Regions from separate parts of the Homo sapiens genome. Here regions 1, 2, 3, 4, 5 and 7 are each linked to region 6. Evidence: promoter capture Hi-C in 16 types of primary human blood cells and fetal thymus (Javierre and others, 2016). All regions are on one chromosome and are shown on one strand. Each heading gives the region's core, a stretch centred on a gene start or on the middle of the fragment in contact. The rest is flanking DNA. Distances are from core to core; before and after follow the strand shown. Region 1 overlaps GPAT4-AS1 (GPAT4 and GINS4 antisense RNA 1). Region 2 overlaps ANK1 (ankyrin 1). Region 3 holds the start of GINS4 (GINS complex subunit 4). Region 4 overlaps ANK1 (ankyrin 1). Region 5 holds the start of GPAT4 (glycerol-3-phosphate acyltransferase 4). Region 6 holds the start of VDAC3 (voltage dependent anion channel 3). Region 7 has its middle 32 kb from the start of ANK1.

Region 1 (3,109 bases), core at 252-2,751, 840 kb after region 6:
TCAAAGTGCTGGGATTACAGGCGTGAGGCACCGCACCCAGCCAGCCTACCTGTTTGTTGACTAAAGTGAATGGAGTTATACCTGGCACCTGCTGTTGTTACTAGGTCACTTACCTCACCTGGCCACTCTTTTTAAACAAGTGCTGGAGTGAGAGGACACTACACCTCCTGCCTTCATTACCACTTTTGCTTATGAATTTTCCTACTTAGGAATTCATATGCTGTCAAATGGCTTATAAATCACTCATTCCCATACATGTTTTAAAAAGTGGGAACTAATATATATCCAAGTTACTAATATGTACTTATATATCTTTTATGTAATTCTTCCCCAAATTTGGGGTAGCTTTTAAAATTAAGGCAAAATAGAAGATTGAAACTGTAGGTATCATAAGGAGATCGGAAACTATTTAAGGAAAGACACAAGGAAGCTCAGAGGGAGGCAGGGGCACACAAAGTGGCTCTGAGTTCCTGGTAGGAAGGCCGGGAAGGGGAACAGATAGGACTCATTTGTCTGATAAAATGAACCATAAAGTTTGAAAATATAAACTTTTACTTGCACTGAATTCTGAGAAAAATTTATTACAGGGATTCTTATATAGAAACAATGGATATGTAATAGATAATGCCTTCAGTTCTAATTTTCAGAAAACATGGAAATGTTTTTCACATGGCTGTCTCTTTGCTAAAAGCAAAGAACTAAAACATTCATCCAGAAATACTGACTAATGGGATCCAGTTTGATACAGAAGTAAAAGTTGGATGGCTGGGAGTGGTGGCTCATGCCTATAATCCTAGCACTTTGGGAGGCTGAGGTGGGTGGATTGCCAGAGCTCAGAAGTTCGAGATCAGTGTGGGCATCATGGTGAGACACCATCCATATCTACAAAAAATACAAAAATTAGCTGGGCGCCGTGGTATGCGCCTGTAGTCCCAGCTACTCTGGAGGCTGAGTCAGGAGAATCGCTTGGACTCCAGGAGGCAAATGTTGCCGTGAGCCAAGATCACGCCACTGCACCCTAGCCTGGGCGACAAAGTGAGACTCCGTCTCAAAAAAAAAGTTGGAGAACCAAGAGAAATGGACTGAAGAAACAGCCCTTCGGCTCTCTCGTGTTAGTTGTTAAACTGTTGACAAGAGTGTGGGCAGCAGCCTACCCATGAGCTCACTAAAGAGGACCCAAAGGGTACACGTTATGTTGTTGACTGGAGATCAGAAAGCTTCAGATGCCAGAAGATGGCAAAGTTGATGATCTTCTACACAAACAAAGGAGGCCTGCTACAGTCTCACCTGGATTGAGGACCAAATCACTTGTCCGGAGGTTGAGGGCAGCCACGTCTGCAAACAGAAGTGGGAGTGGACAGCACACGCTTTAACACGTGAAGCTGGGTGTGGGAGAGGCCATTTCTCACTGTTATTTTCATGACCTATTCTGGAAGTGAGATTGCAGGCCGACCAGAAAGCTATGTGTGCCCAAATCACTCCAGTGTTTCTCATATGAAAACTTGTACACCTTACTTAATTCCCCAAAGAATTTGGTGGGATTTTAATAAAATAGTAAAACTGTAGATATTAAAAAAGAGGTCATAAACTATTTAGGGAAAGAGGACAATTTGACCAGGAAGCTGGGGTACCGTGGTGAGCTGGCGCTTATCTCATAGGGTCCTTATGAGGATTAAATAAGATAATTCATGGAAAGCAATTTGCCTATTGTCCAAGACACAGATAAATATTAATCTCCTTTACTGTTTCCTTTTCTGTAGGCAATGAGTAACCAATGAAGCTTTTTTTTTCAGATGGAGTTTCACTCTTTTTGCCCAGGCTGGAGTGCAATGGCGAGATCTCGGCTCACTGAAACCTCCGCCTCCCGGGTTCAAGTGATTCTCCTGCCTCAGCCTCCCAAGTAGCTGGGATTACAGTCACCTGACACCATGCCTAGCTAATTTTCATATTTTTAGTAGAGATGGGGTTTTACCATATTGGCTTGGCTGGTCTTGAACTCCTGACCTCAGGTAATCCTCCGCCTCTGCCTCCCAAAGTGCTGAGATTACAGCTGTGAGCCACTGTGCCTGGCCCACTGAAGCTTTTTAAGAGGCAATGAAATGGTCAGAATTCTGTTTAAGGAAAATTAATAGGTTCAGTGATAACAGAAGCAGCAATTTGAAGTTTAAAAACATTTACATTTGAGCTGGCAACAACTTTGGGTCCCAGGTTGTTTTAAGTCACTTTAAGAGGCTTAAAACATTCATATGCAAATCTCTGAACCCAAGAAAATAACTTCCTCTTAACCCTAGGCCTGGCCGTTAGGAAAATTTTTTTTTTGAGCCAAAAAATCCCATACTTTTAGGTTTACACTTAAGACATCTTCTCAGGATTAATTGTAAATTCCTTAGAAGCAAAAATAGTCATTTACTTTTATTCTTATTTCCATAGAAACTAATAGAACTGAACAAGAAGCAAGACTTAGGTTAATTGTGTGCTGACTTTACTTCGAGTGGTTTTGTCTTAACAAGCTAGGCAGAATTTGTCAGCATTGTGTTACATAGAATATGACCTGGTTAAAACAGAAAGCTATGTTGAGAAAAATGCCACCTCCTCTAAAGCAATGTGAATGGCAGTGGTTATTCCCTCAAATGAGTCTTTTTCGAATATGAGAACTTATTCCAGTGAAGCTATTGTTGCTGAAAACATTTTTGGATCTTCTTTTCTTTTGTGGAAAGAAAGATTACAGTAAGATGAAAAGGATGGACTCAGGTGCCCTGGCCTCACTGGGGTTTGATCACATCTCTACTTAGAAGTGATGTGGCCTTCAGCAAAGGAGTCTGGTATCAAAGCTCACCAGATGCCATGGCTCATGCCTGTAATCCCAGCACTTTGGGAGCCAAGGCAGATGGATCACTTCAGGCCAGGAATTCGAGACCAGCCTGGCTAACATGGCGAACCCCCGTCTCCACTAAAAATACAAAAATTAGCCAGGTGTGGTGGCACATGCCTGTAGTCCCAGCTATTGGGGAGGCTGAGACAGGAGAATCACTAGAACCCGGGAGGCAAAGGTTGCAGTGAGCCGAGATTGCCACTGCACTCCAGCCTGGGCAACAGGGCGAGACTATGT
Region 2 (2,700 bases), core at 1-2,500, 680 kb after region 6:
TGCAAGCCTGAGGAGCTGTCTCCAAATCAAATGGATTTTGTTTGTTTGTTTGTTTACCTAAATTGCTCCTGGGTGATGCCAGCCCTGCTCACTGGGTGTCCAGCCGGCCAAGAACCAGACTCAGCCCCTGCTTGTGTGTTGATATTGTCAGCTCAGCATTCCTGTAACCAGGCTCTGGGCGGCTTCTTCTGTTTCAGAATGGCTACACCCCTTTGCACATCGCTGCCAAGCAGAACCAGGTGGAGGTGGCCCGTAGTCTGCTGCAGTATGGGGGCTCAGCAAACGCCGAGTCGGTGCAAGGTGTGACGCCCCTTCACCTGGCCGCCCAGGAGGGCCACGCAGAGATGGTGGCTCTGCTGCTCTCGAAACAAGCCAATGGCAACCTGGGGAACAAGGTAGGCATGGTGTCTTCGGATCTGCCCTGGAGTGCTGGATAACAACGTGTGGTGTCTTCATATTGAGCATCTATGTGTGCCCAGGTTCTGAGTTAGGGGTGTGTGTGTGTAATCCTTGGAACAGCCCTGCGTACATTTCACCTTCATTTTATAAATGAATAAACAGAGTCAGAAAGGTTGCTTATTCCCAAGGTGGCAGGATTCTGAGCCTTTCTGATGCCAAAGCCTTTGCCGATCTTTCTAAACAGATTGACCTAAGGATCTGCAGAAAGATCAATATTAAAATCCATAATAAACTTTCCCAAATATAGGCCGGTGCCTACCTTCAGGAGTGCATTCTGTCATTTGGGACTAAATATTCTATGTTCCGTGGGGGAAAGATATTTTTAAAAACACTGACCTATACACTAGGAGTTCTCACTCCAGCAACAATAGGTGTGTGAGGATAAAGCCTTCTAAAATTGCGCACACATCTGGGGAGGAAGCGCGCGTGAGCAGTTTTCTGGGTGAAGCATTCATAATGTTTCTCAGCTTCTCAAAGGAATGTGTGACCCAAAAAAAAAGACTAAAAATCACTTCTTTTTTAAATAACAGTTTTATCGAAATATAATTCACCTAGAAGTCACCCTTTCAAACTCTACAATTCAATGTTTTTTAGTATTTTTACAGAATTCAGCAGCCTATGATCTAACTCTAGAACACTTTCATCACTCCGAAAGGAAACCTCGTACCCGTTAGCAGTCACTTCTCATTTCCCCCAGAGCCCCCGGTCCCTCACAACTGCAAATCTTTCAGTCTCTAGGAATTTGCCTGTTCTGGACATTTCATATACGTGGAACCATGCAATGTGAAGAACCACTTCTTTGATGATAAATTCACATAGCACACATTCAGAAAGGCAAGCATTTTCAGGGCAACTTAAGATTTCTTAAAAACCTATAGATTTTGTACAAAATCTGGCACATTTTGTACAAAATCTGGCACATTTTTTACAAATTTGAACAATTGACCCCCAATGAGCGAACCATTCTGGTAGGACCATTATATTCATTATATCTCATGGCATTCTGGGTTCCTTCACTGCCCCACTTAATGTGAGCTTTGCAAGGAGACCGTAAGGTGACTGGAAACCCACTCTGTCATCCGCACGCCGCCCTCACGAGGCAGATTATTGGTGTTAGCTCAAGAATGAGGCAGAGCGCCCGCCTGAGAGGCTGACACAGTCACTCCTCAACCGAGGGCTGTTCTCATTGGAGCCACCCCCGCCTGCCTGCAGGAGGGGCCCACCTGCTTTGGCTGCAGCAGTGTGTGGTGGGGCATCATGACTGCCCACAAGCCTCTGGGCAGCCTGCGGGGTGTGCAGAAGGCAGAGGAGGGCAAGTGGAGTCCTGTAGAGGGGACACGGTCTGTGCCTGCAGAGAAATCCGTTTTGTTGGTCCCACGCTAGCAAAGTGTATTGAGGCAAAGTCCAGGGGAGAGAAGACTTTTCTGACATTTTCATGTGGGTGCCCACATATCAAACAACATCTCTGATACCTTACTGCCTTCCTGACGAAGCTGTGATGCCACCTGCAAGAATATGGTCCGTTCAATCCTGGCGGGATGCTCTGCCCTCTTGACCGTGCCAGCACTGGCTGTGCAGTGATAACAGTATGGTACATTATTTATTTATTTATTTAAGATGGAGTCTTGCTCTGTCACCTAGGCTGAAGTGCAGTAGTGCAATCTTGGCTCACTGCAACCTCTGCCTCCCAGGTTCAAGTGATTCTCCTGCCTCAGCCACCCAAGTAGCTGGGATTACAGGCATGAGCCACCACGCCCTGCTTATTTTTGTATTTTTAGTAAAGATGGAGGTCTCACCATGTTGGCCAGGCTGGTCTCGAACTCCTGACCTCAGGTGATCCACCTGCCTCGGCCTTCCAAAGTGCTGGGATGACAGGCATGAGCCGCCGCGCCCAGCCATTTAAACAGCACTGTGTGCCTCTCAATGTGCTTCACCTGTGCTTTCTCCAGCGCTCCTCACCTTGCCCCTGAGATGGATCCATGATAACCCCTATTGTCTAGATTAGGAAACCAAGGCTACAGGGCTCTGAAATTCACCATGGAAATGGGGCATTCTTTACTGGGAAGTCCATAAAGCACCAACGATGGGAAAGTGCCATAAAGTTCATCTAGATCAGAAGTCAGCAAACTATGGGCCCGTGGGCCAAATCTGGTCCACCACTTGTTTGTGTAAATAAAGTTTTATTGAAACACAGCCATGCCCATTCATTTAAATGTTAGTCATATAGAGACATGGCCAAAA
Region 3 (3,349 bases), core at 464-2,963, 860 kb after region 6:
ATAGGCAAGCAACGGCTTGAGACAAACTCCCTAACTTGCTCAAGATCACATAACAGAGGAGTGTCACAGACAGATTTAAATCCAGATAGTCTGAACTCCTGTTACCAGAGCATCATGAGATATAAGTGTAAAGAACACAGTTACTGGCACATGGGAAATATGCAGTAAGTCATAGCTATTACAACTTAAAGGAGAAATATTTCAGAAAGGATTTTAGATAAGCAGTGGACATATGGAGAGCAGACGACTCAAGAAAAAACATGTGAGAAAAAGGAAAAATATGACCAGTTTTCCCTTACAGGCATTTCAGCATTTTCTTGCTAAACAGGCATTCTCCAGGGAAACAGCAGATGTTCAAGGGACTAAGGTAAAGAAGTTCAGGGACCTCTACAGTCCCTGAAAATATCACGTGGATCCTTGCTCTGTGAACTGTTCACTGAATGTGCCCAAAGCTGTCCCTTACTGACCCCACTTGGGGATGCTGTGTTTGATATGATGAGGTCTCTAACAGAGGATGTCCTTCTTGCTTCCCGTTTCCATGTAGATGGTAAGATCCAGTCCCTGTTCTAAAGTAAGCCCCAAATTCCGTTTCCTCATCTTGTGATCCCTGATATTCACAGTTGAACTAAATAAAAAGGCTGACTGGAGCAAAGGGATTCGATCTGGGATGCTTACCTGCTCCAATCTTTCAATGAGCTCTGCAGGAGTTAGGACCACTTCCTCACTACCCCCATCAGAGTCCTGTCCCAGGAAATCCACTTCTTCGGTCATCTTCTCTGAAACCAGGAACCTAATGAGAGGGAAAGAACCAATACTCTGCAATGCGTTTTCTAATTATCTGCAAGAACAGACATCTATCTGGAGAAAGGAAAGGTTTATTGAGGTTTCCTGGGGTTGTAGAGGCCCTTTAGCAAGTGGTGAGAGAACGCAGGGACTCTAGTTTTCCAGTGTCTGCCTCTTCCTCCAAGGCTTAGGTCAGGTATCCGTTTCTCAAACAAGCCTCCCCCTTACTTCTGTCCACCAAGAGCTGAGCACCCATCACACCATACAATCACTATTCATTTCTTTGACTTCCCAGTAGAGGTCTTGTTCCTCAGGGACGGGGTTCGTTTTAGTTCAAATACGAATCGCGCCTCTGCTCAGTGCCTGGCACTAAGCACTGGGGACGCAATGACGTGGGAAGCCCCTGCGCTCAGCACAGCGCTTGACTCCTAGCAAGCACTTAACATTATTAGGAGCTGGCCGGGCTCACGCCTGTAATCCCAGCACTTTGGGAAGCCGAGGCAGGAAGATACCTTGAGCCCAGGAGTTCGAGACCAGCCTGGGCAACATAGGGAGATCCTGTCTCTATAAAAACAAAAATTGTTAGGAAGATTAATCAATGCTAATTTCCCAGAGCCACAAGGGCCGGCGACATTAGACCAGTCGGCGATCCCAAAGGCCTAAGGAGGTGGATGGCGGGGACAAAGAAAGTCCCTGGGGTCGCAAGGAAACTGCGAACATCCCCCTCCCCTCCTCCCTCTCAGTGCCACCCACACAGGCCTGCCCTAGCCACAGAGGTCCCATTCGACGCTCACTCGGGGACCTGGGAGACAGCGAGGCACTCCACAGCAGCCGGCGGTAAGGACGGGGCGTTCGTGGGGACGCAGTCGGGGCACCAGGAAGCGGGAAGACAGAGGAACAAACTGCTCAAGGACTTGCCGGGACCAACTCAACCCTGCAACTTCTCAGCTCCCGCGCTACTCTCGCAAAGTTTCCGCCCAGGCACGACGTCATCGCGCAAGGGCGACGCTGACCAATCAAGGCCCGGGGGGAAGAGCGGGGCGGTCTCCTTGGGCCCGCCCACCCGGCGGGCGGGGACTGTCTTCGCGGCGGCCTGCAGTCCCAGCAACCCAAGGACTTGAGGCGGCGGGAGGCTGGTCCGGGTTGGCCCCGCCCACCTGGGGGCCGGCCGCTCCGCTGTGCGGTCCGGGTTGCACTACCCAAGAGCGTCGGGAGGGGGCGCCCGCCACCGCGGCCAAGGGGAGCGGCGGTGTCCGCCCCGGGGGGTCCCACCCAGAAGTATGCTGTTGAAAGCAGGCCGCTGCAGCCTCCTGGGCCGTCTCCACCCACAGCTCTCGTGGCTCTTTGGGTTCCTCCGTCTTTGCGGGGTTTCACCTGTGGTCAGTGTGGTCATTGCCTTCAGAATCTCCAGTATATTCCTTTTCATCTTTCTTGAGACAGGGTCTCGTTCTGGTGCCCAGGCTGGAGTGCAGTGGCACCACCACAGCTCACTGCAACCTCCGCCTCCCGGGCTCCAGCGATCCTCCCACCTCAGCCTCCGGAGTAGCTGGGACCACAGGCCAGCGCCACCACGCCCAGTTATTTTTTAATTAAAAAAAAAAAAAAAAAGAACTGTGGCGGGGTTGGGGGTGGGGAGGTTCTCCCTATGATGGCCAGGCTGGTCTCGAACTCAAGGATCCAAGCAATCCTCCCACCTCGGCCTCACAAAGTGGGTACTGGTTCTTGAAGCCTGGGATCGGACGACCAGCAGAAGCATCGCCTGGGAATCCGTGAAAATGCAGGTTCTCAGGCCCCACCCTGGCCCACCGAATCAGAAACTGGGGGTATTTCACCAGACCCAGGCCCTCCCGGTGACCCTGACACAGCTGAGGTTTGAGAATCACTGCTTTGGGGCCGGGCGCGGTGGCTCACGCCTGTAATCCCAGCACTTTGGGAGGCCGAGGTGGGCGGATCACGAGGTCAGGAGATCGAGACCATCCTGGCTAACATGGTGAAACCCCGTCTCTACTAAAAATACAAAAAAATTAGCCGGGCGTGGTGGCGGGCGCCTGTAGTCCCAGCTACTCGGGAGGCTGAGGCGGGAGAATGGCGTGAACCCGGGAGGCGGAGCCTGCAGTGAGCCAAGATGGCGTCACTGCACTCCAGCCTGGGAGACAGAGCCAGACTCCATCTCAAAAAAAAGAAAAAAAAAGAAAAAAGAAAAGAGAATCACTGCTTTGGGGCAATGCTTTCAACTCACCTTCTGGAGGGGAAAAGCACAAAAACCCATGTCTGTATATGTATATATTTTTTCCATCTTTGTGTGATCCAGTTTTTCTTCTCTGAGTTGCTGATTCTTTTCTCTTTGCTGTCCTTTGTTTTCTGTGCAAAGCGTTGCTTCTGGCTTCCCTAAAAGTATCTCTTCTCCATCAATCTGAGGGCTCTTTGCAAAGCTGCCCTATGATGTCATATTGATTGACTAGTAAAATGATTGGCTAATATAGTATGATCGTACCTGCCTGATTACAATCCTGTTATGAAAATGACAATAGAATAAGCCGAGTGAGAGAGTAGGCATCTTTACAAA
Region 4 (2,994 bases), core at 1-2,500, 700 kb after region 6:
GTAGACGAGGGGCTCCACAGCTGTCTGTCTTTGAGACCCCTCTTGAGAAGCATCTTAGAGAAGCTTCAGGAAAGGAGAGAGATGCCACCATGCACATCTCAGAGGAGGCTGCAGGCTTTTGGTCCAGTGATCTATGAAAAGAGTTGGCATTTGCCGAAGGTCTTGTGCACCAGGGACTATTAAAAGTGCTGGCCATGCCGGGCGCAGTGGCTCACGCCTTTCATCTCAACACTTTGAAAGGCCAAGGCGGGCAGATCACCTGAGGTCAGGAGTTCGAGACCAGCCTGGCCAACATGGTGAAACCCTGTCTCTACTAAAAATACAAAAATTAGCCGGGCATGATGGCACGTGCCTGTAATCCCAGCTACTCGGGTGGCTGAGATAGGAGAATCACTTGAACCCGGGAGGCAGAGGTTGCAGTGAGCCGAGATCGCACTGTTGCCCTCCAGCCTGGGTGACAGAGCAAGACTCTGTTTAAAAAAAAAAAAAAAAGTGCTAGCCAGCTGAGTATGGTGGTGGGGGCAGGAAACAAAACAAAAAACAAACAAATAAAAGTGCTGGCCAGGCTCAGAGGCTCACGCCTATAATCCCAACACTTTGGAAGGCTGAGGCAGGAGGATCGCTTTGAGCCCAGGAGTTTGAGACCAGTCTGGACAACGTAGTGAGACACCATCTCTATTAAATAAATAACTAAAAGTGCTTTTCTTGCATATTCTCATTTAATTCTCATATTTATGGGTACCTTTATTATCCCTTATTTGTGTATTAAGAAACTGAGGCTGAGAGGTTAAGTAACTTGCCAATGGTCACACAGCTAAGTGAGTGGTGGAGATGGGATTTATCCAGGTCATCTCTGGCCCCAGAGTCTACATTATAACCTGCTGTGCTAGGGTTTCAGTAGCACCCAGGTGAGGAGGCAGAGGAAAGGGCTCGACAGATAATGTGAAGAGTGAAGGCATGGGGGCTAGGTCTGAACCAGTTACCGATCCTAAGAGACCCACTTGGGTTAAGATGTGTAGTAAGCCAGCAGTGATCTAATCCTCAGAATCTGCACTGAGTTTTCCTGGGGAAGGCTGAGGGCCCCAGAGAACAAGTGCAGGACTATAACCTTGGTTCTAATCCTGTCTTAGGCACTAACGAGGCAAACCGGTTTTTCTCTTTCAGCCTCAATTTTTTCAACTGTCAAATGAGTTAGTGATAACTTCTCAGTTGAAAGCTCACCCATAACAATGAGTGAGATTAAAACAGAGCAAGTGCTTTCCAGCTCTTGTCATGAACAAAGCATCTTTGGACAGACATAAAAACAGAACCTTGGTTTTATTTTTAGAAACAGGATCTCAGTCTGTTGCCCAGGCTGGAGTGCAGTTGTGACATCATAGCCCACTGCAGCCTTAAACTCCTGGCCTCCAGTGATCCTCCTGCCTCAGCATCCCAAGTAGCTGGGACTACAGGCACATGCCACCACACCTGGCTAGTTTTTTTAAAAAAATTTGTAAAGATGAGGATCTCCTATGTTGCCCAGGCTGGTCTCAAACTCCTGAACTTAAGCAATCTTCCCACTTTGGCCTTCTAAAGTGGAGGGATTACAGGCGTGAGCCACCATGCCCAGCCCAGAACCAGGGTTTGTTGTTGTTGTTGTTGTTTTCAGAAGCTATGTTATGATATTCAAGTGAAGTTTTGGAATACTTGATAGCAATTCCCATCAACATCTCAGGGATATTTGAAGATCCCTACATATTACAAAATCTGTTGAAGTCGGGAAGCATGCCTCATTGATCACAATTTTGGAAATAAAGCCTTTCCCAAAACAAACAGTGGATTTCTCAGCACACACCCGCATGCCTCTTGCTGAGGCAGGGTGTGTCTTGGAGAGGGAAGGACCGAAGGTGGAAGGAGGGACATCTGGGCCCTTCTCTCCCTGACAAGCTGTATCTGCTTTTCCTCTCCTGCAGGTGTTGGAAGGAATGTCCCTGTTTGCAGAACTCTCTGGGAACCTGGTGCCTGTGAAGAAAGCTGCCCAGCAGCGGAGCTTCCACTTCCAGTCATTTCGGGAGAACCGTCTGGCCATGCCTGTAAAGGTGCCGGCACCCTCTGGCTGAGTTCTCCTCTGGGTCTAGAAAGTTGGGGAGGCAGAATTCCCTAAACCAGACAGCCGGGTGGCCTAGAAAAGGGCCCCTGAATTCTCCTTTGTGTGATTGAGTTTAGGTGAGGGACAGCAGTCGAGAGCCGGGAGGGTCCCTGTCGTTTCTGCGCAAGGCGATGAAGTACGAGGACACCCAGCACATTCTCTGCCACCTGAACATCACCATGCCCCCCTGCGCCAAGGTGAGCTGGCACCTGCCGAGGAGCCTTGGCCCGAGACGGCTTCCCTGTAGGAGGTCCCCAAACAGACCCCAGGTCCAGCACTTCCAAGGGGCTTCTTCCTGGTGGAAGCTTAGAGTCCCCCGAGGCATGCAAAGGTGCTGAGCTCTCCTCCACATGCTCATGTTGTGGCCTGGCGGGGAGACCATGCCCTGGCCCTCTCTGCAATTTGCAGTGCAGTGCTGGTCATGGGACAGGAAGAACAAATGTTGGTATCAGATGGTGATGGGCACATTCACGCTGTGGACCCTGGGCTCCCTAGGTGTGAAAGTGACAAGGGGCCCTAAGGGCATCTGCCTCGGTGTCCCTGGCCCGAGGCCTCTGAGGTTCACACCAAGGAGAGCTGCTAAGGTCTCCCAGCCCCTGCACGGCTTCTCTCAGGCCGCTTTTTCATCTACCTGCTTATCTTCCCAGGGTGCTAGGCCCTCACAGAAGGGAAGCCTGGTGTCCTCAGCCACTGCAAACACCCAGGGTTTTGAGCTCAGCAAAGGAGTCTTGGCCACGTATGTTCATTTGTCGATACCTGTAAGAGTATCCCAGTCACCACCTCTGCTGGGGACTTTGGAGGGATCATACGTCTCCAGACCGTCTCTGTGGTTTTCGTTGCTGTTGTTTTGCTGCTGTTGTTGTTTT
Region 5 (3,391 bases), core at 308-2,807, 810 kb after region 6:
AAGCGATTCTCCGGCCTCAGCCTCCCGAGTAGCTGGGAATACAAGTACTTGCCACCACGTCCGGCTAATTTTTGTATTTTTAGTATATGCAGGGTTTCACCATGTTGGCCAGGCTGGTCTTGAACTCCTGACTTTAGGTGATCCGCCCGCCTCGGCCTCCCAAAGTGCTGGGATTACCGGCGTGAGTCACCACGCCCGGCCATACTTTTTCTTTTAACCTGTTCTATCATGTTAAGATACCTTTTGCTGTGCTCTTTCTTCAACTCTACTGTGTTTCTTAGCTGAAGACCTCATGAGTAGGCTGTGTTCCAAAACAAAAAGCACCTTATGACTTGGTATGGTGGTTTTCATTATGGAACTGAAGCTACTTTTGACAGACTCATCTTGCATCAAGTTCTCCCTGAGACATACGGGAGGGGAAATGGGTGGGGTGTGTATGGCACAGGAATAGCCACAGTTAAGTGGCTGAGGAGGCCAGAACAAGTACATGCTGGTTCCCTATTCCATCTATTTCCCTGTGTCTGAAATTCTCCAAAATACAAAGTTAAAAAAGAAAAGAAAAGCACATCTCTTTCAAAGAGAGAAGTATATTTGATTGGCATTATTACAGGATTTTGTCTGGAGACTTTGGTATGGTATAACTGCTCTTCACACCATTTCCCTTGGATTGAGATAGAATCTACAAGACATGAAACTAAGGAGAGCTCCTCAAAGTTCAGCCAAAATTAAGGAAAATGAACCAAAAACAAAATTCCTCAAATGACCTCAAGGTTATCCATGAGAAGATCCATGGTAATACTTGGCAGAGGATGGAACTTATTTCCATCGTGCTACACCGTATGTCTCCTATAAGCTATTTTCTGCAACTTCTGAACAGCTAAACTTCAGCCCTCTGTGACATGGAAAGCGAGGAAATAAACAAGCCCCACTGGGAGAAGGATGCCTCAGAGGGTGCTGAAATAAAAAAGGAAAGGCAAGGGATTTCAGGAGTTAAGAAATCCTAAAGAAAAATGGGAGCATGCATTTGGAGAAGGAGAGGGTAAAGACATGCATCTTACGGCAGCCAGAGAACACAGGAAGGGGAATGACAGGGGAAGGCGCTTCCTGGTGCTCCAACGCCCAGCAGCCCTCGCCACCCACATCCCCGGACTCCCGGGGCGGGAGGGCTGCGCACACCTGGGACTTGGGGGAGGCGAGGGGCTCCGAGGAGCCGGGCTCGGAGAGCAGGCGAGCGGAGAGGCGGGCGGCCGGGGTTCGGGGCGGGCGCGGACCGTTCCATCCCGGACGGGGGGCACCCGCTCCACCCGCCGGGGATCCCCGGGGCGCGGCGATGGTGCCTCCTGACGCCGGCGCAGCGTCGCCGGGGCGTCCCAGACCGCAGGCCCCGCGCGGCCGCCCAAGCCCGGCTCCCACGTCCCGCTCTCGGCTCCCCGGAGGTCGGAGACTTTGAGGTAAGGGGCCAGCTCCCTCCTACTCACCGACCGCGAGGCTAGGCAGCTCCAAATCCCGCGGCGACCGCTCCCTCCCGCCCTTGCCGCCGCCGCGGGCCCAAGCTGCGTCAGGACGTGCGCGCGCCCGCCTTTGTCTGCGCCGCCCAACGTGACCCTGCGCCCACCGCCCCGCACGCTCCCGTCGGGCGCGCGCGGGCCGGCAGGGCGGGGGCCTAGGGAGAGGCGGGTGCCGCGTGGACCGGTCGCGGGTTGGGCGACCCGCGGAGTCGCCCTCTGGCGGACTAGGGGGCACTGCCGGGGGCGGGGCGGGGCAGGAGCAGGAGAGGCCGGGCCCTGGCTGTCCCTCCGCTGGCGCGTCCCTCTCAGAAAGCGGAGCGCTTCCCTGCGTTAGGACCCGATACTGGCTCCCTCCCCGGAGGTTCGCTTGTGTGTTCCGGAGAGGGTGAAATCAGGCTGGCACCGCGGGAAGAGGCTAGAGTCACTAAATCACCTTGTCCTCTTGAGGCTGCTGTCCGTATGCAGCGACATTCTGCCCGTTAGAGGACTCAGCTCAGGGCCTGGTACGCTCAAGATCTGTTAGCTACCAGCACCATCACCACGACCACCGTCATCACCAGCAGTATCCCTCAGCCTCGTCTACCTTGCTCGTCAAGCAGGGTGCTCCAGGAGTGGGTGTAGGCCACTTTCGCCCTGCCTGGCAGATGCAACTTTCCAACTTCCACCTCCACTTGGACCTGCTCTCTCTACTCAAGTCTAGCTGGTGGCTGCTGGAGTTTGCGTGTGTGTTTCTTACTATATCTTCTGACTTCGGACGCCTAACCCAAGCTTATTATCTCCCCTAAAATGGGACCTCCTTAAAATATATATTACCTTTCTTTTTCCTGTTCTTAAAAGACAGTTTGCCTTTAGTGCCAAGCCCTCTCCGCCGGTTTACGCTGTACACGGCTGTCAGATTGTCATTCCGTGCTAAATGCATAATCTGATAATGAAATCTTTAAAGTCCACATTCTTAGACCTCAAAATCTCTGTAAGAATAAAGGGCAGAGTATGGTAGTTCACGCCAGTAATCCCAGCGTTTTGGGAGGCCAAAGCAGGAGGATCGCTTGAGGCCAGGAGTTTGAGACTAGCCGGGGCAACGTAACGAGACCCCCACTTCTACAAAAATTTTGAAAATTAAAAAAAAATGGTGGGGGGAGCGGGGCGCGGGTAGCTCACGCCTGTAATCCCAGCACTTTGGGAGGCAGAGGCGGACAGATCACTTAAGGCCAGGAGTTTGAGACCAGCCTGGCCAACATGGTGAAACCCCGTCTCTACTAAAAATACAAAATTTAGCCGGGGGTGATGGCACGCACCTGTAATCCCAGCTACTCGGGAGGCTGAGACAGGAGAATTGCATGAACCCAGGAGGCAGATGTTGCAGTGAACTGAGATTGTGGCACTATACTCCAGCCTGTGTGACAGAGCGAGACCCAAACTCAAAAAAAAAAAAAAAAAAAAGAATAACCACTTAGCTCCAAAACACTGGACTACTTATCTCCACCAAATATAACTAAATGTTACCCATTTGGAACTGATCACGTATTTATTAACTCAATCACTTATCCATTCATTGAGCCCTTGTTACTCGCCCAGCTTTTTTGGGGATCCCAATTCAAGATTGAGTAATGCATGGCCACGTCTAATCGTCAACGACATTAAATTCCATAAGAGAAGAAACCACCGGGCGCGGTGGCTCACCCCTGTAATCCCAGCACTTTGGGAGGCTGAGGCGGGGGAATCACGAGGTCAGGCATTCGAGACCAGCCTGACCAACATGGTGAAACCCCGTCTCTCCGTCTCTACTAAAAATACAAAAATTAGCCGGGCGTGGTGGTGCGCACCTGTAATCCCAGCTATTCGGGAGGCTGAGGCAGGAGACTTGCTTGAACCCAGGAGGCGGA
Region 6 (2,913 bases), core at 367-2,866:
AATTCTCAGAGCTATCAACACTGCTGATTATCTCATTCCTTTGCCCTCTTTGTATCATGGGAAATCTTTCTGCAGCAGGTTCTTCTGTATTCCTCTCGCAGACTCAAAAGCTATGTCTAACCAATTACAGAGCCACCTCTAGCAGTGCCATTAGCCCATATGTCAGAAAAATCCAGAGTACCAGCTAGCCCTTGCAATTGCTACGCCTGAATGATCTACACATTTAAGCTCATATTTATTTATATATAGCCCAGCTCTTAATCCAGACTTCTGCTAAGCTTCTGCCTACCCCATCATACCAAACATATACATATGATGCACTTAAATGGGAATGCATTTAAGTTTTGTTCCTTAACATAAACCTGTCAAATATGACAGACACTATGATATAAAGAGACTAGTATAAAAAACTAAAAAGAAAAAAAAATTAAAGAGGAAACGGTAGTATAAATGTACTGACTCATTCCATAGTAAAACTTTGCTCTAAGCTACCAGGTTTCATAATTCACTTACAGAACGATTATTTTACAATTCAATCCCTTGTACTAAAGTGATCAATTCTAGGCTTTTTATATTATCCCAATTGCAATTTGATATTACTCTTTATGATTACAACTGATGTTGATATTTGTTGAAATTTTGCCAGAAGTCTGTAATTTGGGAAGTAAGTATAGAAATGCAGGCAGTATATATTGAAATAGAAATGTTAAAGCTTTACAGTCTGGTTTTTCATACTGCCGAGAAAAGATACACTTAAATGTTTAGAAGCACTATATATACGTCTAGGGACTATTTACAATATTTCAGCATTTTGTTTTGTTATTTTTCAAAACCAGTACGAGATACTATGCAAAAGTCACGTAGCTGGTTTAGTATACTAACTGACCTCAATTCTGCCTAGTTCAAGCTGACTTTTTCAGGCCTATGACTCTGATGGGAAATGCACTGCTAGTATGATCAAGCAAAAATCGAGAACAACAGAAACTTCATGTTCCTCGAGAGTAAAGCTACAACCACACGTCTCCACCAGCTCTACAGAATGCACCTGCCCATAGATGTGCACACTGCACAGAGGCTGCAGGAGACGCAGACGGGGAAAGGCGTTAAGCCGGTTGCTACTGCTTTACAAAGCCACTAACTTGACAGCCAGTACAGAGCCCTTTTCGTTCCTCGCTTCTCCGTTTTGAATTGCACGCAGGGCACCCTCCCTCGGCCGTAAGGAGGGGGCAGGGGCGGGCGGGAGATGGGTGTGGGGTTCGAGGATCCAACTTCCCTAGAACCGATCTCCTTTCTAGCTGACCCCTGGGAGGAAAGTGCGGTCCACACGCCGGCGGGATAGGTCGCTGCCCGCGCCCGGAGGCCACTTGCCCCGCCGTGCTGCGGCTCCATCGCCTGAGGTGGCCCGGGCGGGTCCCGGCGGGAGCGAGCGGCCCCGGCCCCCCGCGCCCCGGTAGCCTGCTCCCTGCCCACAGAGCCTCCGTTAGGCCCGCCTCCCGCCTGGCGCTCTGCTCGGCCGCGGCCCACCGCTCTCCGGGACTGGAGCCCGCGCGGCCTCAGCTCTCCTCACCTCCACCCCGAGGGCCTGTCTCTGCTCCGCCAGGGCAACGCTGAAGGTCTTCAAACCAACGCCGTCCGCGCCTGCGCAGCCTCGCACCCCCAGCCGCGCCTGCGCGCCGCCCCTCCCCGAGAGCGCCTGTGCGCCGGCGTGTCGCGCCACGGTCGCGCGCTTCGGAGCAAGGCGCGGAGACGAACAGCCGGGCCAAGCCAGCACCACCAACTGTCCGGCTCCGCAGCGCGCGTGCGCAGGAGGGCTCGGTGTGGACAGTGAGGTTGACTGGGGGCCCAAGAGGCTGGGGACCGCACCTGTGCCCTTGAGGGGACTCATTCTCGCGAGAATGCGCGAGGTTGCTAGTTAACTGTTGCCATGGGTGCGGCCGCGAAAAGGCCGCAGGGTGCCGGACCCCAGGTTTGAGGCATGCCGCAGGCCGGAGTGTAGTGGCGCGATCTTGGCTCACTGGAGCCTCGACCTCCTGGGCTCAAGCCGTCCTCCTGCCTAAGCCTCCTGAGTAGGAGGGTCCACAGAAGCGCGCCACCACGCCCGGCTAATTTAATTTTTTTTTTTTTTTTTTTTTGGTAAAGACGGGAATCTCCCTATGTTTCCAGGCTGGTCTCGAACTCCACGGCATAAGTGATCCGCCCGCCTGCGCCTACCAGAGTGCTGGGATCACAGGCCTGAGCCCACGCCCAGCCTCTTATGGGAATTTCATTTCAGACTGACCAGACTTCAAGAGTGTCACTCTTAGGTCATCTCGTCTTAAGGATGAGAATACACAGGTCCCCAGGGAGTAAGTGATTGATTCAAGATCCCACAAGTAGTGAGAGATGATAATTCAAAGGGGCAGAGGATGTGGAGGAGAAAAAGCTCTTCTGTAGAGGAGAAGACCAACTAATAAAGGTAGAATAGATGACAGAAATAGAAAATCATCGTCTTGGAACCACCATGATAATAATTGATTCAGGCTGAAATGATCAGTGGACCGTTGAGGATGTTCATATGGTTTCAAAGTATCACCCCCATAGATTACTCACTAAAGAGAAAAGGGTACCTTCACATCAAAGAGACTGATCAAACGGGGGATGGTAGGGACTGACATATGCCCCTGGTGTGAGGCACAGAGAGGGACACAGAGATAATATTCTTGTAAAAGTGTGTAATTTGCCTCTCTTCAGGACGAAACAATCAGGCAAATCCAAACTGAGAGACCTGCAAGACAACTGCCCAGTCTTCAAAAATGTCAGTTTCATGAAAGATTAGGAAAAAGGCTAGTGAACTGCTCTAGGTTAAAGGAAGCAGCCTGTAATCCCAGCACTTTGGGAGGCAGAGGCGGGCGGATCATGAGGTCAGGAGATCGA
Region 7 (3,087 bases), core at 393-2,892, 560 kb after region 6:
CCCGAGTAGCTGGAACTACAGGCATGTGCCTCCACACCCCACCAATTTTTGTAGTTTTAGTAGAGATGGGGTTTCACCATGTTTTCCAGGCTGGTCTTGAACTTTTGACTTCAAGTGATCCGCCCACCTTGGCCTCCCAAAGTGCTGGGATTACATGCATGAGCCACCATGCCCGGCAAACATGGGTTTTCATTTATCAGGTAAATACCCAGGAGTGGGATTGCTGGGTCATGTGCAAAGTATGTTACTGTTAGAAGAAGAAACTCTTGGGGCTTGAGGTATGAGCGCCCGCAGCTGCCCACACTTTTCAGATGATAGCCCCAGATTGCTGAGGGGCTTTCGGTTTTACAGATGGGGAAATGGAGGCCTTGAGAGGTCAGATGACGAGTCCATAGTTTTAAGGAAGGTCGTCGTCAAGGTCCAGGCGGAGCCTCGTCTCCTGTCTCCCAGGCCGCTGTGCTTTCGTCTGTATCTCAGTTCCCTTCATCATCTGTTGCTGCAAGCTTATTCTCATGGGATCCGTTTATGGGACACATTGGGCCACCAACAATTAGCCTCTCCATGCACTGATAAGGAATGTGACCAAAAAGATTAATCCATTTGGTGAGGTGACCAAGTGATTATGTAAACAGCCGTGTTGATGAACAGAATCTATCTTCAAAGGTTATGACAGTATTATACACACAGCCCTCACGCTGGGCATTTGGCTTGATGGAGCTGTCTGCAAAATTATTCTTCAATGATTCATCTACCAAATTATTCTTCTCAGACCTTTTCAAGCAGAACCGACACAGAACTGGTGTCTGCGTTTCTTTGGCACTGGGTAGGTAGGAGCTGTTTGCTTTTCTTACTCGCTTCTGACTCCCTTTGCCTTGGGATTTGGGTCCTATCCCCGAAAGCCCTAGTCCCAGACAACCTTTTCTTTACCTGCTTCAAGCTTAGAATCAAGAGAGCAGTTCCTGACACTCCCTGGGAATCTTGGCTTTACCACAATTCTAGCTTTTGAACATTTCAATGGAGGATTAATTGTTATTCATGCTGTCATTGTTATGTAGGTCATTTTTTCTTTGGATCAAGTTGACGGGATTTTATCATCTGTGGAAAGCAGCCATATACCAGAATGAAGAATACTTTTGATTGATGATTTAGCTTAAAAATAGTTTCCTCTTTTAATAAGCCTCATTCGGGAACAAATGACCCCAGAGGGAAACTGGGTGCTTATCTAGTAGCCTATGTATTTTGCAGAGAATTTCTAGAAATGTGTGTATTTTGAAGAAAAGAAGAGGGGCTTTGGCTGTTTGGTCCTGGAGATGGGTCTAGGAGCCTGGGGTGGGGGCATCTATTGGTCTCTCCTAGCTGACCCCTGCCCAGAGAACTGCAGTGCCCCTTGCCCAAATAAAAGGTATGCCCGAGTGGCTGAGTGGGTGTTTCTAGTTGGATTACTGCAGGCTCAACATTAGATTCACCAAATCATTATTTAGTACTTGCTCTGTGCTGGGCAAAATTTCATTGATGTTATCGGAGGAATATCTAGGCAAAGAGAGGAGACCTCACTTATAAAAACTAAAGGCCTTGTCACGTCAGATTTTTTTTTTTTTTTTTTTTTTTGAGACAGAGTCTCGCTCTGTCGCCCAGGCTGGAGTGCAGTGGGGCGATCTCGGCTCACTGCAAGTTCAGCCTCCTGGGTTCAAGCCATTCTCCTGCCTCAGCCTCCCAAGTAGCTGGGACTACAGGCGCCCGCCACCACGCCCGGCTAATTTTTTGTATTTTTAGTAGAGACGGGGTTTCACCGTGTTAGCCAGGACGGTCTCGATCTCTTGACCTCGTGATCTGCCTGCCTCGGCCTCCCAAAGTGCTGGGATTACAGGCATGAACCACTGCGCCCGGCCCAGATTTCTTTTTAAAAGGCAGTTAGGGATGGCAGTCTTAGACAATGAGCTCCCCTAGTGCCCTTCCAATGGAGAAGCACAACGAGAATCTAATTTGTAAATACCAGGTCTTACACGGTGAGTGGGACTAGGAGAAGGCATCGACTGCACGCTGGGGTCAGTTGCCTGGGAGCGAATCCAGCTCCACTCCCTGCTGTGGCCTTGAGCAAGTAGCACTTAACCTCTCTGAGCCTCTTTCTGCATCTGAAAAATGGGATTGGTCATAAGGTTGCGATGGGCATGTGCCCCCTGAGAAACATCAGTAAGGTGGCAAGGGTGGCGAAGACGCTGTTCCTCGGGTTTTGTTCCAGCGACGAAAGCTAAGTTCATCAAGCCACAAGAAGAAATCTCAGATTTTTTTTCCCCCTAGGAAATGTGAAAATTGAAGGTTTCCTTTGAAGCCTTGTGGCAGAAGCTTCTGAAAGCCGAGTCACAGATCTTGCACAGTGCTGTCCCAAACGCCGCTGATGTGCAAACGGTGGCCCCCGTCCCCGTAGGGAGGCCAGAATGGGACAGCAGAGATTGCGGCAGGGTGTCCGGTGAGCAGGGGACCCTCACGGACCGGTCTAGACGCGAGACTAGGATTTATTTATTAATTCTTTCAACTGCGGCGGTGGAATCAAGATGGCCTAGAGGGCGCCAGGGGGCGCTCTGGAGAGGACGGGCGGCAGATCCGAATGGGCCCCGAGGAGGGCGGCGCCCCGGGTCACGCGCGACTTCTGCGGAACCCGCCTTTGCCGCGCAGTTTTCGGGATTCGCGGGAAGAAGGCGCAGCCTCCCAGGCCCAACTCTCTCCCCAGCACTTTCGCGTGGAAAATCTTCAGGAAAATGAAATGTAGCTCCCCGTATGCCCTCTCCCCAAAGATGTAAAGGACTCTGGAGCGGGCGCGAGGAGCAGTTCCTGTTTCATTACGAGCGCCCCCTCTCCAGCCCGGTCATTGTAGTGCGAACCAGAACAATCAAATTAACAGAGGCACTCAGGAGCCTTTTAGTGCTACTGTTCCAGGAACTGAAGAGGCCTCGGTATGGGAATCCCCACAGAGTAATAAACAGCACGTGGTTGGAGCGCCGAGGAGGAGACTCGCTCCACCTGGTGGCGGTGATGTCCTCTCGGAGGAGGTGGCAGGACACAGAGGCTGGCGGCCACAGACGGGATCTG

The links. The method cuts DNA at HindIII sites, captures the fragments that hold promoters and counts their contacts. A CHiCAGO score of 5 or more calls a contact.
Region 1: a fragment that was not itself captured here is called in contact with the fragment with the promoter of VDAC3 in region 6 in 1 of 17 cell types (naive B cells); the score reaches 7.4 in naive B cells.
Region 2: a fragment that was not itself captured here is called in contact with the fragment with the promoter of VDAC3 in region 6 in 7 of 17 cell types (non-activated CD4 T cells, naive CD8 T cells, total CD4 T cells and 4 more); the score reaches 15.8 in non-activated CD4 T cells.
Region 3: the fragment with the promoter of GINS4 here is called in contact with the fragment with the promoter of VDAC3 in region 6 in 1 of 17 cell types (naive B cells); the score reaches 5.6 in naive B cells.
Region 4: a contact is called between a fragment that was not itself captured here and the fragment with the promoter of VDAC3 in region 6, in 1 of 17 cell types (activated CD4 T cells). The highest score is 5.6, in activated CD4 T cells.
Region 5: the fragment with the promoter of GPAT4 here is called in contact with the fragment with the promoter of VDAC3 in region 6 in 2 of 17 cell types (naive B cells and fetal thymus); the score reaches 8.9 in naive B cells.
Region 7: a fragment that was not itself captured here is called in contact with the fragment with the promoter of VDAC3 in region 6 in 6 of 17 cell types (activated CD4 T cells, naive B cells, non-activated CD4 T cells and 3 more); the score reaches 8.4 in activated CD4 T cells.

The regions. Positions count from the first base shown.
Region 1 is chr8:41,547,334-41,550,442 of GRCh38, reverse strand. The region is part of intron 1 of GPAT4-AS1 (GPAT4 and GINS4 antisense RNA 1); the gene reads left to right. Among named protein-coding and RNA genes, the nearest start is that of GINS4, 20 kb to the right of the region's middle. The HindIII fragment of the contact is 563 bases long and covers 1,220-1,782 here.
Region 2 is chr8:41,706,473-41,709,172 of GRCh38, reverse strand. ANK1 (ankyrin 1) reads left to right here. Exons shown (of 43, transcript NM_000037.4): 17 at 198-395. Among named protein-coding and RNA genes, the nearest start is that of MIR486-1, 47 kb to the right of the region's middle. The HindIII fragment of the contact is 4,197 bases long and covers 1-2,700 here.
Region 3 is chr8:41,527,625-41,530,973 of GRCh38, reverse strand. It overlaps GINS4 (GINS complex subunit 4), which reads right to left and starts at 1,713. Exons shown (of 8, transcript NM_032336.3): 1 at 1,578-1,713; 2 at 676-790. The coding sequence starts at 771. RefSeq lists a silencer at 1,738-2,167. The HindIII fragment of the contact is 13,395 bases long and covers 1-3,349 here.
Region 4 is chr8:41,689,558-41,692,551 of GRCh38, reverse strand. It overlaps ANK1 (ankyrin 1), which reads left to right. Exons shown (of 43, transcript NM_000037.4): 32 at 1,953-2,078; 33 at 2,206-2,325. Among named protein-coding and RNA genes, the nearest start is that of MIR486-1, 31 kb to the right of the region's middle. The HindIII fragment of the contact is 2,370 bases long and covers 66-2,435 here.
Region 5 is chr8:41,576,366-41,579,756 of GRCh38, reverse strand. GPAT4 (glycerol-3-phosphate acyltransferase 4) reads right to left here and starts at 1,557. Exons shown (of 13, transcript NM_178819.4): 1 at 1,479-1,557. It overlaps GPAT4-AS1 (GPAT4 and GINS4 antisense RNA 1), which reads left to right and starts at 1,389. Exons shown (of 3, transcript NR_125824.1): 1 at 1,389-1,451. RefSeq lists silencers at 1,051-1,190, 1,211-1,830. The HindIII fragment of the contact is 4,489 bases long and covers 1-2,278 here.
Region 6 is chr8:42,390,583-42,393,495 of GRCh38, reverse strand. It overlaps VDAC3 (voltage dependent anion channel 3), which reads right to left and starts at 1,616. Exons shown (of 10, transcript NM_005662.7): 1 at 1,568-1,616. It also overlaps a transcript of DKK4 not described here. RefSeq lists enhancers at 1,111-1,611, 1,612-2,112 and a silencer at 1,340-1,869. The HindIII fragment of the contact is 9,991 bases long and covers 715-2,913 here.
Region 7 is chr8:41,828,457-41,831,543 of GRCh38, reverse strand. It overlaps a transcript of ANK1 not described here. Among named protein-coding and RNA genes, the nearest start is that of ANK1, 32 kb to the right of the region's middle. RefSeq lists enhancers at 2,659-3,087, 3,005-3,087. The HindIII fragment of the contact is 1,406 bases long and covers 940-2,345 here.